6 separate regions of the Homo sapiens genome follow, and regions 1, 2, 3, 4 and 6 are each linked to region 5. The links are contacts of gene promoters, found by promoter capture Hi-C in blood cells and fetal thymus (Javierre and others, 2016). All regions are on one chromosome and are shown on one strand. The core of a region is centred on a gene start or on the middle of the fragment in contact, and the rest is flanking DNA. Distances in the headings are between cores, read along the strand shown.

Region 1 (2,795 bases), core at 70-2,569, 540 kb after region 5:
GTATTCAGGGGAAGGAAACATGGCAAATTGCTTATAGACTCAGATTTTCTGCCCAGAAGAATCATATGTCACTCACTTTCATTGCCCATGAGTTACATGGTCCTTGTGTCTTCTCTGAGGCAGTGAGGAAGTTTCCTCTTATGTTTCTGAAAGGAGATCTAAATATTTTTGAATAGCCATAGTGACTATCACAGTAAACATTTGTAAGTTACTTAACCCCTCTGTGGATCAGTTTGTTCACTATAAAATAGGTGCTAATGATAATATCTACTTGATACGGCAGATGTGTGGATTAAGTGGTATCATACACGTATAGCTCTTAAAATAGTGCCTGGTACTTAGTAAGCAATAAATTCTTGCTGCAATTATTGCTATCATTATTGTTATTAGGCTCTTACTATATGATGACACCATACTACCTGCTTTATTTACACAGATTACTTCTTGAGATAACTTCTATATAGTATGTACTATTACTCTTCTCATTTATAGGATAAGAAAACCTTGGTTTGGAGCTTTTGACTAGCTTGCCCAAGTTCCACAGCTAATACGTAAAAGATGAGATTGGAATCTAGGCAGTCTGACTCCAGAGCCCTCAGTATAAACTGAGACTCCCTCCCAGATAGCAAATAAATATGAACAGAATTCAGAAGTGCATACCATGCTTAGAGAACTCTGTGTTTGTTTGTGTACATATATGTTTATGGTTGTGATTTTATATTGAATTTTTAATATATTCCTATTTTCTGCTAGTTTGTTAGTGTTTCTAGTTCATATAATTAAATATACTGTTTCTCAGTATTCTATGTAGTCTGACAGCTAAACAAATTTGAAGTTGATTTTGTTCTTCATGAACAGGTGAAAAAACTTGAGCCAGAGTCATTTAGTGATCCCAGAAACCAGTTAGTTGGTAGTATATCCTGAACTCAAAGTCAGATTTCCTGACTTCGATTCAGAGCTCTTCCTACTGCCTCAGGTTGTCTCCTTGTAGTTTATGCAGCATATCATCCTTTATCAAATATTTGAGATGCTTTTTGTCTCCAAATTTTGAGTGAATTTGTTGTAGAAATCACAGTTAAGCTTTTTTTCCCTCATAGCTCACATTACTACATCTTGATTGTAATTTATCAACTTTGTCTTTTAAATATTCTAATGTTACTAAACACCCAGGGCCAAATTAAATATTTGGACAGAGTTTCTAGTAAGAATAAATGCCTCCAGAGAAGCTTCTGTGGAAAAATATTGTAATGATGAGCTTGAGAGTACCAATAACTTTTCTTTTTCGTGTAAGGCAATTTAGAGTCCAATTTCTGAAGGCACAGAGATGCCAGTGGAATTAGAGATGAATCAAACACATTACATTTTAGGTTTATCTTAAGGTATATTGGCAAGAAGTAAAACAACAACTTACCAAAAGCTTGTTACTTTTCCTGCCAGTGACATAAGAATGTACATATAACAACCTCAGATATATTGTAATTTTCAGAGTTAAACCTCTTAAGGAAATGCTGAGCTCATTTTCCTGGTCTGTTTTCCCATAATTAAATGGTATTCTTGTTTGATAATTTCAGTGTATTTTCATGTAACTTATCTGGAAAGTTAATAGGACATAAATTGAGTTAGAACTTCTCAATATATTGCTATATAGTGGAGATATTCAATAAGGAAGTCACAACACTTTTTTCCCCTCAGTATCAAAATATGTCAGTTATCTGTCAAGAAAATGAACTGAATCTGTGCTGTGTGTTATTGCACTCATGGGGAAATACTGTTTTGAGGCTACATGATCCTTGTCCTGGCCTCGTGCAATTTAAAACATTAATTCTTGTGTTAAAATAAATACTGCTTTATAAAACTGACTGCAGAATTTAAGGGAATTTTTAATATAAAGCATGAGGTTTATAAATTGTGCCCTTACTCTCCCTGCTAGACATGCGTACTCTTCTCTGCCCTATAGTCCTAATTCTGATGAGAGAGAGAAAGAATATATCATTAGCAACTATCTTTAAGGCATCTTTCAGCAATAAGCTAGAAACTCCTTGTTTGTTTGTTTTTGAGATGGAGTCTTGCTCTGTCACTCAGGCTGGACTTAGAAATCCTTCTAATGGTGTTTTTCTGGAAAGGGGAGTATGGAGAGTCTGGCAAAAAGGGAATTTTAGCTCTACGTGTAGCCATATTTTTTTTACAAAAAAGAAACTAAGTATTGCATGTGAAATTAAAATTTAATTTTAAAACATCTGTGATCCTTGATGGCACTTTTCCTCTTTCTTTAAAGTAACAAAACCATACTGCTGAAGGTTGAGTTTAAAACAAAGATTGGAAAGTAATTATTCATAATTTCACCACCCTGACATAACTACTTTGAACTTTTTTTTTTTTTTTTTTTTTTTGAGACAGAATCTCGCTCTGTAACCCAGGCTGGAGTGCAGTGGTGTGATCCCTCATCACTGCAACCTCCACCTCCCAGGTTTAAGCGATTCTCCTTCCTCAGCCTCCAGAGTAGCTGGGATTATAGGCTCCTGCCACCATACCGGGCTAATTTTTGTATTTTTAGTAGAGACAGGGTTTCACCATGTTGTCCAGGCTGGTTTTGAACTCCTGACTTTAAGTGATCTGCCCACCTCGGCCTCCCAACACTTTGAACATTTTGATGTGTTTCCTTCCAATCTTTGTTCTTATATATCTATTTTTTATGATGATGATGATGATGATGATGATGATTATTATTATTATTATTATTATTATTATTAAGTTAGGGTCTCACTCTGTCACCCAGACTGGAGTGCAGTGGCACG
Region 2 (2,700 bases), core at 124-2,623, 550 kb after region 5:
AACAGATATTACAGTTTTCTTTTGGTAAAATGAACATTGACATTGGTGTGAGGTGATGTTAGCAGCCCAGGCTTTAATCTCGCCTTTGTATTGTATAATGTGAATTAAAACTTAAGTACACTTGAGTCAGGGTTATTCAGTAAAACATGTGGAATGGAATTTTGTGGTATTTATTAGAGCTATTCCACTTGTAAACACCTTATCTTGAAGGAACTGAAAAGAGGTTGCAAGCATTCCTGCAGTAGAATAAAGTGCTTATGATGGTTGAGTGAGAAGTTCCTCTCTACCTTCCATGCTCTACCTACTGTAATGGGTAATATTTGTACAGAGATGTGTTTTTCCCATCAAGCTGTTTATGGAACTTGGCCTGCTAAATAATAAACTTAGAAGTGAGAATAAGTAAGAATAAGGAATAAAACATCAGTGTTATCTTTTGGAAATAAATCACTCCATTGAACATGGAGAATGTGGTCCTCGTGTCATCGGCATTTTCTTCATATTTCCACCTCAGTGGAGTGATCCTGGCTCTGCTTTGCCGCTGTGCTTTCCTTTTAATTGCTGTTTCACCAGGTCTCCTTAGCAGCAGCAGCGCCTGAAATAACTCCTGAGGAAGCTCCTAAGTGAATTCTCATAATTTGCTTCTCAATTCTCCCAATTGATTGAGGCACTCTTTCTTGAGTGCTTTGCAGTTCTGTGTAAGTGGCTGATGTTTGGGGTCACTGCTGAATGTTTTGTTTGAATATCCCTTTCATGATGAAGGGAAGACTGCTGCTTTTAACTACATGGGGTGATGCCCTTTGTGGTAAGCCTTGAAAGGCAAAAATCGTTTTTCATAGTGATATGCCAAATGAAATTATTCTCTTTGTCACTTTGTCCTTTTATCCTTTCAGTCTGATAACCTCAGTTCTTGTGATTTGTTTGTTTTCTTCAATTAAGCTTAGTTGTTTCCTGTACCCAGGTGCATGCTATTTCTGCTCTTGGTTATGATGGTGTGTGGAGCATATTTCTGACCTGGAAGTGTGGTTTCTTTGACTGAGAGCCACATCAGCATGCCTTCCATCCTCTACTTCCTTTGCATTATTTCCTTTTGGAGGGCTCAGTTTGCCATCATTTAATCTATAGATGATTCATCTGGGACTGAGAACTGGTAATGCTGTAATAACAATATCTTTCTTTATATAATACTCAATGCACTTACTACCTTAGATTTTCTCTGTTTATGGAGCACTTTCATTTTAATCTCTCACAATAACCCTTTGGGTTAAGTCAGCAATTTTGTCTTAGTCTAAGATGGTGAAATTGTAGCTCAAAGAGCTTAAATAGCTTGCTCAGAGTGGCAGTGCTTCTGAGTTACCCTGCTTAACAATTTCTACAGGAAATGAATACTTTTGAAGATACTCTGGATAAATAAAAAGGAATTTTCCAAACCACATCCCATTTGTTAAAACCTAACTTGTTTTCAGTCTGGTCAGTTGATAAGACCAAGGTTAAAAGGCCCATTTACCATACAGTTTAAATTGATGTGTCCAAGTCAAGAAAATAAATATTTAGGTCAGTTTTTATTCTGTTGCTTATATGATAAAGTTCAAGAAGGCTGGCTCTTAAATTAGTGGAACTTGAAATGGAAGTAATTAAGCCATTAATTTTTTTTTATTCTCTTTTCCTTTCAGAGAGATGGAAAACTTGATGACTAGCTCCACCCTACCGCCCCTTTTTGCAGATGAAGACGGTTCCAAGGAGAGTAATGATCTGGCTACCACTGGGTAAGCAGCTGCTTTAGGACACTGGACTTCTCCATAGGCCTCAAAACAAAGCTTCTAGCAAAGTAAGAGGTCCTAAAGAGGCAGTTTTATATCATAAGAATAGACGGTGCACTTGTTTCACTTTGCAAAGAGAGTGACAGCCATCATAAACCACTTTGTAATCTGCATTCAATTATCTTTTGCAGTGCTCTGGTTTTTGTGAACTGGTACAACAATATGTGGAATCTAGCAAACACTGGTGACTCCAGTTAAGAAAATTATATAGTCACCATTAAGGAAATACCTGCCACAGAGCTAGCTCTAAAAAACAAATGCATTTTTTCTGTTCAAATTACCACAGATATTAAAATAGTTTTTTCCCAAAGATCAGATTTTTTAATGTGGTTCTTTATTCAAGATGCTTAGTAACTTTAGCTGACTTCTGTTCCTTTCCCCATCCCACCCCCTTCTCCTTTCTGTGGGATCTTTTGACAAATATTTAAAGAGATATAGAAAAGGGTTAATAACAGTAGTCCACCTCTTCCCTTGAAAATCTCTGTTCCACTTGAATTTTTATCTTTTCTAGATGTTTAGAAGTTATTTGGCAAAGAGAAAGTGTGTTCACTAATAGACTGAAGTGCTAGCTAATCCCTAAGATGAATTATTTTAATATTCTTTAGAGCTGTTTAAAAAATAGGCTATACTTTGTAATTCTGTTTCCTTCCCTCACATTTATGTCTCACCTCGTTGATATCCGCCTTTGACCTCACTACTCAGATGAAAGTGTTCTCCAAGACTTTTCTAAAGGCTGCTTAGTTACTATATTCATTCAGTAAAAACTTTCTGAGTATCTGCTATGTGTCATTGTTCCAGGCATTAGATAGAAAGCATTGATCAAAATAGATAAAAATCATAGGCCTTTTAAAGTTCAAATTCTACTTGTTGAGTCAGACAATAA
Region 3 (2,797 bases), core at 229-2,728, 560 kb before region 5:
CCATCTGGGATCTCGGAGAGGCTCCCCTTTGTTTGTTTCGGGCTTCAGGGTGCAGGCTCTGGAATCAGTCACTGTTTCCCCGGGATGGAGAGAACCTGGGGCCAAGCGAGGAGAGTGCCAGCGGCTGCTCAGCACCTTGGTCGGTGGGAGGCCACTGGGCTGGGGAACCTGGAGCCTTGAGGAAGGAGACAGGGGCCGAAGCCCAAGGGCGGGCAGGAAGGAACTGTTGCAAGCCCTGGAGGCCCGTCCATAACCGTGGATGAGTCTTCTACACATGTGGCCTGGCCCTGTCCAAATGGGCTCTGAAGGAGGGGAAGGGCCCTCGTAGGCCCCCGGCATATTCGCACCTCCCACCCAGTCCCCTGGGCAGCGCCTCGCCCTGGGTCCACGTCGGTCCCTTTCCCTCTCCAGAGTCCTGGGCAAGCCTCTTTCCTCTTCCTCTGAAACTCCGACTTCTTCCGGAGGGCTTCGCTCGTTCCGAGGGTCCTGCGACTGGAGGAGGCACATCCCTGAGCAGCCACTCCCTCCCCGCAGCGGCCTGTCGCCGAGCTCCCGCGCCCTGCTTGAGCTCGGGAGAGATCGCTGCGGGGCAGTCCGGCCCGGGAGCGAGAGAAAGAACGAAAATGCACAGCTCTCTCCGAGTAAGGCGAACAGATGGAGAGGAAGACGAACAATTAAACGAAACAAACAGAATAAAACAGAAACGAAATCGGGCCCCGGGGGGCTGGGCCACCCGGAGGTTGGGCTCGGGGCGGGTGGGTGGCGGCCCCTCGCTAACCTCTGGCCTCACCCTGTCCTGGCAGACGCTGGGTCGGGCCGGCAGCCCGCGTTGCGCCCGCACGTGCACAAGCAGACGGAGAAGACGACCCGCGTGCGGACTGTGCTGAACGAGAAGCAGCTGCACACTCTGCGGACCTGCTACGCCGCCAACCCGCGGCCCGACGCTCTCATGAAGGAGCAGCTGGTGGAGATGACCGGCCTGAGCCCGCGGGTCATCCGCGTCTGGTTCCAGAACAAGCGCTGCAAGGACAAGAAGAAATCCATTCTCATGAAGCAGCTGCAGCAGCAGCAGCACAGCGACAAGACGGTGAGCAGCCGCTGGGCCGGAGGCTCGAGTCGGGTGGGGGCTGCGCTTCCGCCGCGGTATCTGCGTGCCCTTTTCTGGGCGAGCCCTGGGAGATCCAGGGAGAACTGGGCGCTCCAGATGGTGTATGTCTGTACCTTCACAGCAAGGCTTCCCTTGGATTTGAGGCTTCCTATTTTGTCTGGGATCGGGGTTTCTCCTTGTCCCAGTGGCAGCCCCGCGTTGCGGGTTCCGGGCGCTGCGCGGAGCCCAAGGCTGCATGGCAGTGTGCAGCGCCCGCCAGTCGGGCTGGTGGGTTGTGCACTCCGTCGGCAGCTGCAGAAAGGTGGGAGTGCAGGTCTTGCCTTTCCTCACCGGGCGGTTGGCTTCCAGCACCGAGGCTGACCTATCGTGGCAAGTTTGCGGCCCCCGCAGATCCCCAGTGGAGAAAGAGGGCTCTTCCGATGCGATCGAGTGTGCGCCTCCCCGCAAAGCAATGCAGACCCTAAATCACTCAAGGCCTGGAGCTCCAGTCTCAAAGGTGGCAGAAAAGGCCAGACCTAACTCGAGCACCTACTGCCTTCTGCTTGCCCCGCAGAGCCTTCAGGGACTGACTGGGACGCCCCTGGTGGCGGGCAGTCCCATCCGCCATGAGAACGCCGTGCAGGGCAGCGCAGTGGAGGTGCAGACGTACCAGCCGCCGTGGAAGGCGCTCAGCGAGTTTGCCCTCCAGAGCGACCTGGACCAACCCGCCTTCCAACAGCTGGTGAGGCCCTGCCCTACCCGCCCCGACCTCGGGACTCTGCGGGTTGGGGATTTAGCCACTTAGCCTGGCAGAGAGGGGAGGGGGTGGCCTTGGGCTGAGGGGCTGGGTACAGCCCTAGGCGGTGGGGGAGGGGGAACAGTGGCGGGCTCTGAAACCTCACCTCGGCCCATTACGCGCCCTAAACCAGGTCTCCCTGGATTAAAGTGCTCACAAGAGAGGTCGCAGGATTAACCAACCCGCTCCCCCGCCCTAATCCCCCCCTCGTGCGCCTGGGGACCTGGCCTCCTTCTCCGCAGGGCTTGCTCTCAGCTGGCGGCCGGTCCCCAAGGGACACTTTCCGACTCGGAGCACGCGGCCCTGGAGCACCAGCTCGCGTGCCTCTTCACCTGCCTCTTCCCGGTGTTTCCGCCGCCCCAGGTCTCCTTCTCCGAGTCCGGCTCCCTAGGCAACTCCTCCGGCAGCGACGTGACCTCCCTGTCCTCGCAGCTCCCGGACACCCCCAACAGTATGGTGCCGAGTCCCGTGGAGACGTGAGGGGGACCCCTCCCTGCCAGCCCGCGGACCTCGCATGCTCCCTGCATGAGACTCACCCATGCTCAGGCCATTCCAGTTCCGAAAGCTCTCTCGCCTTCGTAATTATTCTATTGTTATTTATGAGAGAGTACCGAGAGACACGGTCTGGACAGCCCAAGGCGCCAGGATGCAACCTGCTTTCACCAGACTGCAGACCCCTGCTCCGAGGACTCTTAGTTTTTCAAAACCAGAATCTGGGACTTACCAGGGTTAGCTCTGCCCTCTCCTCTCCTCTCTACGTGGCCGCCGCTCTGTCTCTCCACGCCCCACCTGTGTCCCCATCTCGGCCGGCCCGGAGCTCGCCCACGCGGACCCCCGCCCTGCCCCAGCTCAGCGCTCCCTGGCGGCTTCGCCCGGGCTCCTAGCGGGGAAAAGGAAGGGGATAACTCAGAGGA
Region 4 (2,700 bases), core at 197-2,696, 580 kb after region 5:
CATGTCCTTTGTCTTCCTTCTGTAGCCATTAACTGCTGAATCCATGTGAGGAAGACAGGCTTCCCTTCCTTCCCCCTCCTTAGTGATTTTTTCTTTAACAGCATAAGTAAAGAGGACTTTCTGGTTCATTTTTGTTTGTTTTGTTTTGTTTTGTTTTGTTTACAGATGAGGTCTTCCTGTGTTGCCCAGGCTGGAGTGCGGTGGCTATTCACAGATGCTATCATAGCACACTACAGCCTACAACTCTTGGGCTCAAGCATCACGCCTAGCAGTTTCTGGTTCCTTTAACAGCAAAAGGAAAGAGAGGTTCTGATTCTTACCTCAGGGTTTTTTGGTTGTTCATTGTTTTTGTTTTTGTTTTTGTTTTGACACTGCAGAGCACAAGGCTAAAGGTTACAGCTGAGATCTTTGGAACCAAAGGCAGAGCAAGCAGAGCCCGTTGTCTGGGCCCCACACCACTGCAGGCAGGTGGATAGAAGTGCGGCCCCTCTCATAGTATGCCCATAAGTCAGGGCATAGGGCAGAACTACCTGTCATGTTGCTACACCATCCTGTCTTCTCAGCATCTCCTTGCCTGTTTTCTTTATTAGTCCAAAGGAAAACAACAGCAACAAAATCTGTTTTTAAAATGTCTTATATGAACATATATCAAATATCCATGCGCTGAAACCCACATACCATCACTTGGCAATTTTTTAGAATAAGACCCCATTATTATCTATTGCTATAAACCTAGCCAGTTCTCTTGCTCTTCTGTATTTTCCTATTTCCCTGCCATCATCTGCTATTTCTGCCACTTCTCTTAGACTCCTTGTCTGCAAAGCCCAAGCTAGAACTCACTGTCTATGGCAGAAGGACATCCAGAGCCCATTCTGGAGTTTTGTTTTTTCCTTCTGCCAGATGCTTTGTGTCCTGTCTTCCTTCCTCCTCATATTTCTGTTTCTCATTTGTGTTCAGTTTTGTGCAGCATTGCTAGCACTGCTTTTGTGACCAGAAAAGGCCATAACATGGTCCAGGATCATCATTCTTCTGACTCTAGATGGGACACTTGACAGTGACTTGAAACATTTGCATATTCAGGAATGCATGAGATTTCAAGAGAGCCTACAGTATGAAATCATTTTCACAAAATAAGCAGCTTGCTTCTGAAATGCTGTCTTTCCCAGTAGCTACTCACCTGCCTCTGGTGGCTGGGATTCAGATGCCACAAAACTGTCAGTATCTATAGACCAGGTCTGTGCCACCTCCTCTCTCCTCTGTGCTCAGTGAGGAGGCAGTAAATGAAGTTACAGGCTAGCACAATACCTAACTCATGTTTCCCAGTACACCTGTAGATATTACTGTACTTTTATGTTCTCAAGAAATAAGTTGTTGCCTATTCAGTGTTACAGATTTCTTTGTTTCTTTTTAATTAAAATACAAGAAGCAGCTGAGGAAAGGGAGACAAGGTATTTTATTTCTGACTGATTTTAGAAAAAACTTGTGTACATGTGTTTGGAACTGTTGAAATGCCAAGTTTTCTGTATAAGTGTTTTTGTAATTAAACTTTCAGATTTTCTTTGTTTTTTAAGAAGTTGATGTGCTTGTTTGACATTTGTCTCATTAAAACTTTTCTACGTTGAATTCACCTGTTTCAATTTTACTTGCTTTGTAACAAAAAGTCCTACCTCTGGCCGGGCACGGTGGCTCATGCCTGTAATCCCAACACTTTGGAAGGCCAAGGCAGGCAGATCACGAGGTCAAGAAATCGAGACCATCCTGGCCAACCTGGTGAAACCCCGTCTCTACTAAAAATACAAAAATTAGCCGGGCATGGTGGCATGAGCCTGTAGTCCCAGCTACTCAGGAGGCTTAGGCAGGAGAATCACTTGAACTTGGGAGGTGGAGGTTGCAGTGAGCCGAGATCGTGCCACTGCACTCCAGCCTGGCAACAGAGCGAGACTCCGTCTCAAAAAAATAAAAAATAAATAAAAAAGTTCTATTTCTGTTTTTTCCTCTTAAAGACTTTGTCAACTCTACATTAATCATGACATCTGTTATGCTTTTAAAACAGTAACACATTCATTTTACTAATTGCTACTTCAAAATGTATCTTTACCGGTTTGAGAAGTCAGCTCTTTTAATGTATGCTGTAACAATACAGTGAATTCTAATTCATTTTAATATAGCAGTAGTATTCTGAAGACAACTTACAAGGATGTTTTTAAAGTCAGTGACTCTGATGTCCCCTTGATAGAAGATCATTTGATAGAAGAAAGGAGATGTGCTTAAATGCTTGCTTTTTTTTTTTTTTTTTTGAGATGGAGTTTTGCTCTTGTTGCCCAGCCTGGAGTGCAGTGGCACGATCTCCGCTCACTGCAAACTCCGCCTTCCAGTTTCAAGCGATTCTCCTGCCTCAGCCTCCCGAGTAGCTGGGATTACAGGTGCACGCCACCATGCCCAGCTAATTTTTGTATTTTTAGTAGAGACAGGGTTTCACCATGTTGGCCAGGCTGGTCTTGAACTCCTGACCTTGTGATCCACCAGCCTCGGCCTCCCAAAGTGCTGGGATTACAGGCATGAGCCACCACGCCCAGCCAAATGCTTGCTTTTTGAAAATAACTAATCAAAATATTTTTAAAGGAAATTTGTCACCTATTTCTACTATGCTTTTAAAAATCCTAGGGGTGAGGCAACCTGGTTTCCAGAGCCTGCTGCTCT
Region 5 (2,700 bases), core at 1-2,500:
TGAGGAAAAGTCATAGTTAACAGAAATAACAGAAGGGAAAGAGCACCAGTATAGGCCAGAGTGGGACAGTGGTCAGACTACCAACCTTAGGTCAGAAAACTTAACCCCAGATTTACCACTCACCAGCTGGTGATCTAAGGCAAGTAATAACCTTTTGAGCCCCCGTTTCTCCATTCATAAAATAAGTATTACTCCTAGCCCATCCATCCTTCTACCAGATTATTTATGAAGATGAAAAGTTAATGATGAAATTAATCCATAAACTAAGACAAACTATAATTCATATAAGGAATTAGTATCTGTTCGGTAAAATGACTATTAATGAATAGCTATTTTCATGGAAAATAACTTGTCACAACTAGAATAAGAGATGCAGTCCACCAGCAACAGGAAGCTGCTCACAAACAGGCGGCCTCATCTCAGCTGGGGCCCCCTTAACAGCAGCAGGTGTTGCTTACAGGACCAGTTTTGTGCCTGCTTTCTAACAATCCCGTTCCTCCCTGGTGCCGTTCCCACGAACGCGCCTGGAAAACGGTGTAGAGGAAAGGCGCCAAGGAAGTGCTGTTTTGGAAAAGAGCAGCAACAGAGGCAGGAGGCTGGGTCCCACTACTCCCAGGTGCGAGAGGCTCTTCGCCCCTCCAGGCCTCAGCGCACGCATCTGGAAGACGGAGAGGCCATTCCTGCCCCGTTTCCTGGGCAGAGCTAAGATCAGAGTACAGGGAAAGCATGGTAAACCCCGCTGGGAATGACAGATGACGAAGACGATCACCTGTCAAACGAAGGGAGGCTCCTCCAGGGGCCCCTCGCATTTAGACATTCCAGAAGCCTCGTCACCCGCGGCCGGGGCTGCCCCCAAGTGAGGTGACGCGGCAGCCCCCCACTCACCCCTCAGACCGCGTAGTGTGCGGGGTCTCACGTCCCTCACACCCCAGATGAGCCCGCAGGGCAGGGCCCGGACGCGGCTCACCCCAGCCCCCGTCCCGAGGCCTCCGAGGCCGACCTCCGAGCCCTCCCCAGGCGACCGCGGCTCCCCTCCCCCAGCAACGATCCCTGCCCCGCTCAACTCGCACTCCCAGGTGAGGGGAGGGGGTGAAAGGGCGTACCCCGCCGCCATTTTGTCCCCTGGTCCCCGCAAGGCATTCAGACGGCCCGCGCCCCAACCCGGACCCGCCCGGGTCTGCGCTACGCACGCCCCTCGCGGACACTCACCCCCGACCGCCCTGCTTAGTTCGGGGCGGCTCAAAGCGTCCCGCCGGGAAAGGGGCGTGACGGGGCGGGGCAGGGAGGCCTCGGAGAGGCGGGGTGGCTTCCCGGCGCACCACGTGATCTCAGCCGCTGCCGCGCCGCTCCCGGCTGCAAGATCTGTGTTGTCCGCGCGCAGGCGCACGCCCGTTCGCGCCGTTGGGGCGCCCAGGCGGGAGGTGTGAGGGTTGATTTGGTTCGATGTCCCGGCGCGGCGTTTCCGAAGCTGTTTCTTTTCCTAGGTTAAGCTTACACCGCCGCTTTTGGCCACACAGGTCTTTCTCGTACTCAATCTCTTCCCTCCTCCTGCCTTATCACCACAGTCAATCCACAGATTAAGGACTTAGAGACGCGCCTCACAGAAATCTGTGCTGGCGAAAGCACTTGACAGGAGCACGCTGGGCTGCGCTGAACACAACTAGGCCTCCGAGAAGCTTTATCAGGGCCCTTCTGTGTGCCAGGCTTGGAAGGTCGAAGTACAGAGACCTAACAAATACGTTTCATCTACTTCAAAGACAAACATATGATGAATTAAATACTTTAACGTTTAAATCAGTCTGAACAAAATAGAAAAAAGATTCAATGCAGACTGTAATTATCAAACGAATATTCACCGTCCCTTTTCATCCAGCTGGGAAACAGCTCTTTACCCTTCCCTCTCCCTCCCCACCCGCAGTAGGCGGGAAGTCCTGGACTCACAAGCGTTGTGGGGGCAGGAACCATATGGCTATGTTCTGGCTCCCCTTCTCTCTTGCCTTCTTAGAAAACTCGCTTTTTCATTTATTCAGCAAATGTTTATTGACCACATACTATATATCAGATGGTATTCTAGATGCTTGGAGTTAATACGTGAGCAAAATAAACAGAAATCTCTAAAAAACCTCCGGCTTCTTGGAGCAGGGTGAAACCAGGCAAGTGTTACATCAAGTTTAGCCAAAAGCTGTGTCCTTACATATTTTAAGTTCAGCCTGAAGGTTTCTCCGTAAATAGTAAACTATAACCTAAATGGAGGTGTAAATACACTGCAACCTACTCTTGCGCCAATCACCAAGTTTTGGCCAAAGACGGCCAACTGTTCAAACCGTGTTCAAATAAGGTAAACGTCTAGCTATAACCATTCTGGCTGTTTCCCTACCTCACTTTTCTTTCTCTGTCTATAAACCTTTTTCCACCATGTGGCTCTGCGGGAGTCTGTATGAACCTACTCTGGCTCAGGAGGCTGCCTGATTCGGGAATAATTCTTTGCTCAAACTCTGTTTAATTTGGCTAATATTTTGCTTTTAACACAAGAAATAGTAAACACAATAAATAAGTAAATTATATAACATGATAAGCACTACAGTTAACAAAATGAGTAGGATAAGGGGGATAGAGTAGGGAGCATACTACAATTCTATAAAAGGCGGTCAGGGCCTCATTTCTTAATTATCCCCACTTCCTTTCATACTCATAAGCATG
Region 6 (2,700 bases), core at 90-2,589, 520 kb after region 5:
AATGGGGTTGTTTGGTGGAATCAGAATGTTGTATGTAAATCTCCTGGTCCAATGCCTGGTGCCAGAAGCTTCATTAATGCAATTATCTTACCCCCAATCTTGCTTCTGCTACTCTGGCTATTGTGATTTGCCCACATGTCTGTTTTAAGCTTTACATTTTCCCCACAGTATGGGATGCAGTGGTAGACTGACTGAGCTTCAGCCTTGTCCCCCTATCAGCATGCTCACACAGTTGTCAAGATTTAATTTTTTTTCCTTGTGGGAAGGAGAAATCACTAATTTCCATGATTAGAAGATATACAAAATAGAAAAGTTTCAAGAAAAGGAATCTTAATCTTGGCACAAATCACTAAGGTAATTTGAATTGTTACAGGCAGACTTTCAACTCATTCTCCTAAACTTATTTAAATACGAAAACCAAAAATGACCTTTCACACTATGATCATACCTCACATTATTCATCTACACATCCAAACGGGATCGCCTCTGGGGGGAAAAAAATCTGTACTGCACCCAGCATTAATATTTTTTTTTGCTCATGCTATTTTCTGCCTGAAACACTCTTTTTTCCTAGGAATCCCCATCTATCAAAATGCCACTTTCTTTGAGGTCGTTTCTCAAGTACCACATTTAAGAAATATTTTCTGATATCCATCCTCTTCTACACTCTCCCAAACTGTACACGTTCTGTCCATTAACTCTCCAGAGCATTATACCTTTCTTACAGCACTTACTGTCCAGTGCTCCTCTTGTTTGTTTTTATTGCGTTGTTGTAGGTAGAGTTTATGCCTTCCCTAAAAGGCTGCAGACTAGGTCTTATTCCACTCTGTGCTGTCATACCTGGCACAAGACCATTCACATCATAGGTATTCAGTAAATATTTGTGGACGTGAGCTGGCTCTTGGAGTATGACAAAACTGATCAATAACTTTTGTCCACAATTATGCCCAGCATCAGCACAATGGCTATCATACATTAGACACTCAAATATCTATAAAATGAAAGAGTGAATAGTAAGTCATCATTCTCTCATTTGGGAGCTTCTTAGGGTGTCAGATAAGCATATATTAAGCACCTCCTATATAACTGGAGCTGTAAGAACTGATCTCTGCTCCTCAATTTAATTGGAAAAAAGTAAATTGTTACTAATATCTGCAGACTTTGAAGATGGTAGGTGTTTGAGTAGGGATGGCATGGAGAGCTTAATATAGAATTGTTTGCATTGTGAGAGATACCCTCTGCTACCTGAACTCAGAAACCAAATAGATTTTTATATCAAATATTTGGACACTTAACTTGTATTTCCACTCCTAGGTATATATCCAAGAGAACTTAAAACATGTTCACACAAAAACTTGCACACAAATATTTGTAGCAGCCTTATTTGTAAAAGGCAAACTCAAATGTCCATTAATTATTGGATGACTAAACAAAATGCGATATAGCCATACAATGGAATATTATTCAGCAACAAAGAGAAACAAAGTAGCAATACCTGCTGTAACATGGATAAAACTTGAAAATATTAAAGTGAAAGAAGTCACATACAAAAGGCAACCTATTATGTGATTCCATTTATTTAAGATGTCTAGATTAGGCAAAACTAATAGAGACAGAAAGTACATTAGTGGATGGGAATGGGAGTGACTGCTAGTATGGAGTTTCCTTTGGAAGTGATGAAAATGTGCCAGAATTAGATAGTGGTGGTGGTTGCATAACCTTATATACTAAAATATCTTGTATACTAATATACAGTTGACACCTGAACAATGAGGGGGTTCGGGGTGCTAACCCCTGTGTTGTCAAAAATCCATGTATAACTTCTGACTCCCCAAAAAGTTAACTACGTAAATAGCTTACTGCTGACTGGAAGCCTTACCAATAGCATAAATAGTTGATTAACACATGTTTTATATGTTACATGTACTATGTACTGTATTCTTACAATAAGCTAGAGAAAGAAAATGTTACTAAGAAAATGATAAGGAAGAAAAAATATGTTTACTATTTATTATTCGTTAAGTGGAAGTGGATTATCATAAAGGTATTCATCCTTGTCATCTTCACATTGAGTAGGCTGAGAAGGAGGAAGAGGAAAGGTTGGTCTTACTGTCTCAAGTGGTGGAGGCAGAAGAAAATCAGCATATAAGTAGACTCATGCAGTTCAACCCATGTTGTTCAAGGGTCAACTGTACAAAAAAAATCCTGAAATATACACTAAAGGGGTCAGTTTTATGGTATGTGAATTATATCTAAAAGAGAGAGATACTTAGACTTGAAGAATAGAGAATTTTGAATGGAGCCAGAAGAAAGAAGCAAGAGGTGTGAAAGCAAGGAAATGATCATTCTTTCTCAGATCCTAGAGAGAAATATAAGCAGCTAGGTACAGGGCTAAAGGTATGTTAAGGATCAGGTGAGGATGGATATGAGGATAGCTTCTGGGTTTTTGTCTTAATGTAGCAGGGATTTTGGTAAATACTTAGACTACAGAGGTATTAACAAAGGAGAAAAACATCTTATGACCTTGAAGGAAGCTTCAGATTTCTTCTTGATTAGGTCAAGGATGTGGTATATGGTCTTTTTGGTTTCTGTGTTACGGTCAGCTGAGTTTAAAGAGTGGGAGTATTCTAAGGTAAGGAGTCTAGTAGCAATCAAAACAAAGTTACTGGGGAAGATGGGAGAATAGAGACTAGACAAAGA

What was found. The method cuts DNA at HindIII sites, captures the fragments that hold promoters and counts their contacts. A CHiCAGO score of 5 or more calls a contact.
Region 1: a fragment that was not itself captured here is called in contact with the fragment with the promoter of SCAPER in region 5 in 4 of 17 cell types (non-activated CD4 T cells, total CD8 T cells, naive CD4 T cells and 1 more); the score reaches 5.9 in non-activated CD4 T cells.
Region 2: a contact is called between a fragment that was not itself captured here and the fragment with the promoter of SCAPER in region 5, in 6 of 17 cell types (naive CD4 T cells, total CD8 T cells, naive CD8 T cells and 3 more). The highest score is 7.9, in naive CD4 T cells.
Region 3: a contact is called between a fragment that was not itself captured here and the fragment with the promoter of SCAPER in region 5, in 5 of 17 cell types (megakaryocytes, fetal thymus, erythroblasts and 2 more). The highest score is 7.4, in megakaryocytes.
Region 4: a contact is called between a fragment that was not itself captured here and the fragment with the promoter of SCAPER in region 5, in 4 of 17 cell types (total CD4 T cells, non-activated CD4 T cells, activated CD4 T cells and 1 more). The highest score is 7.1, in total CD4 T cells.
Region 6: a contact is called between a fragment that was not itself captured here and the fragment with the promoter of SCAPER in region 5, in 8 of 17 cell types (non-activated CD4 T cells, naive CD4 T cells, monocytes and 5 more). The highest score is 8.0, in non-activated CD4 T cells.

The regions. Positions count from the first base shown.
Region 1 is chr15:77,440,661-77,443,455 of GRCh38, forward strand. All of the region lies in intron 1 of HMG20A (high mobility group 20A), which reads left to right. Among named protein-coding and RNA genes, the nearest start is that of HMG20A, 21 kb to the left of the region's middle. The HindIII fragment of the contact is 191 bases long and covers 1,225-1,415 here.
Region 2 is chr15:77,456,734-77,459,433 of GRCh38, forward strand. It overlaps HMG20A (high mobility group 20A), which reads left to right. Exons shown (of 10, transcript NM_001304504.2): 2 at 1,671-1,763. The coding sequence starts at 1,675. Among named protein-coding and RNA genes, the nearest start is that of HMG20A, 37 kb to the left of the region's middle. The HindIII fragment of the contact is 878 bases long and covers 935-1,812 here.
Region 3 is chr15:76,339,473-76,342,269 of GRCh38, forward strand. ISL2 (ISL LIM homeobox 2) reads left to right here. Exons shown (of 6, transcript NM_145805.3): 4 at 804-1,087; 5 at 1,662-1,829; 6 at 2,247-2,797. The coding sequence ends at 2,363. Among named protein-coding and RNA genes, the nearest start is that of ISL2, 4.1 kb to the left of the region's middle. RefSeq lists enhancers at 169-238, 259-468, 666-1,421. The HindIII fragment of the contact is 7,335 bases long and covers 1-2,797 here.
Region 4 is chr15:77,483,981-77,486,680 of GRCh38, forward strand. HMG20A (high mobility group 20A) reads left to right here. Exons shown (of 10, transcript NM_001304504.2): 10 at 1-1,623. Among named protein-coding and RNA genes, the nearest start is that of HMG20A, 64 kb to the left of the region's middle. The HindIII fragment of the contact is 4,491 bases long and covers 1-2,700 here.
Region 5 is chr15:76,904,090-76,906,789 of GRCh38, forward strand. SCAPER (S-phase cyclin A associated protein in the ER) reads right to left here and starts at 1,251. Exons shown (of 32, transcript NM_020843.4): 1 at 1,210-1,251. RefSeq lists silencers at 827-906, 927-1,036, 1,047-1,356 and an enhancer at 1,097-1,597. The HindIII fragment of the contact is 6,645 bases long and covers 1-1,488 here.
Region 6 is chr15:77,424,468-77,427,167 of GRCh38, forward strand. All of the region lies in intron 1 of HMG20A (high mobility group 20A), which reads left to right. Among named protein-coding and RNA genes, the nearest start is that of HMG20A, 4.9 kb to the left of the region's middle. The HindIII fragment of the contact is 2,385 bases long and covers 148-2,532 here.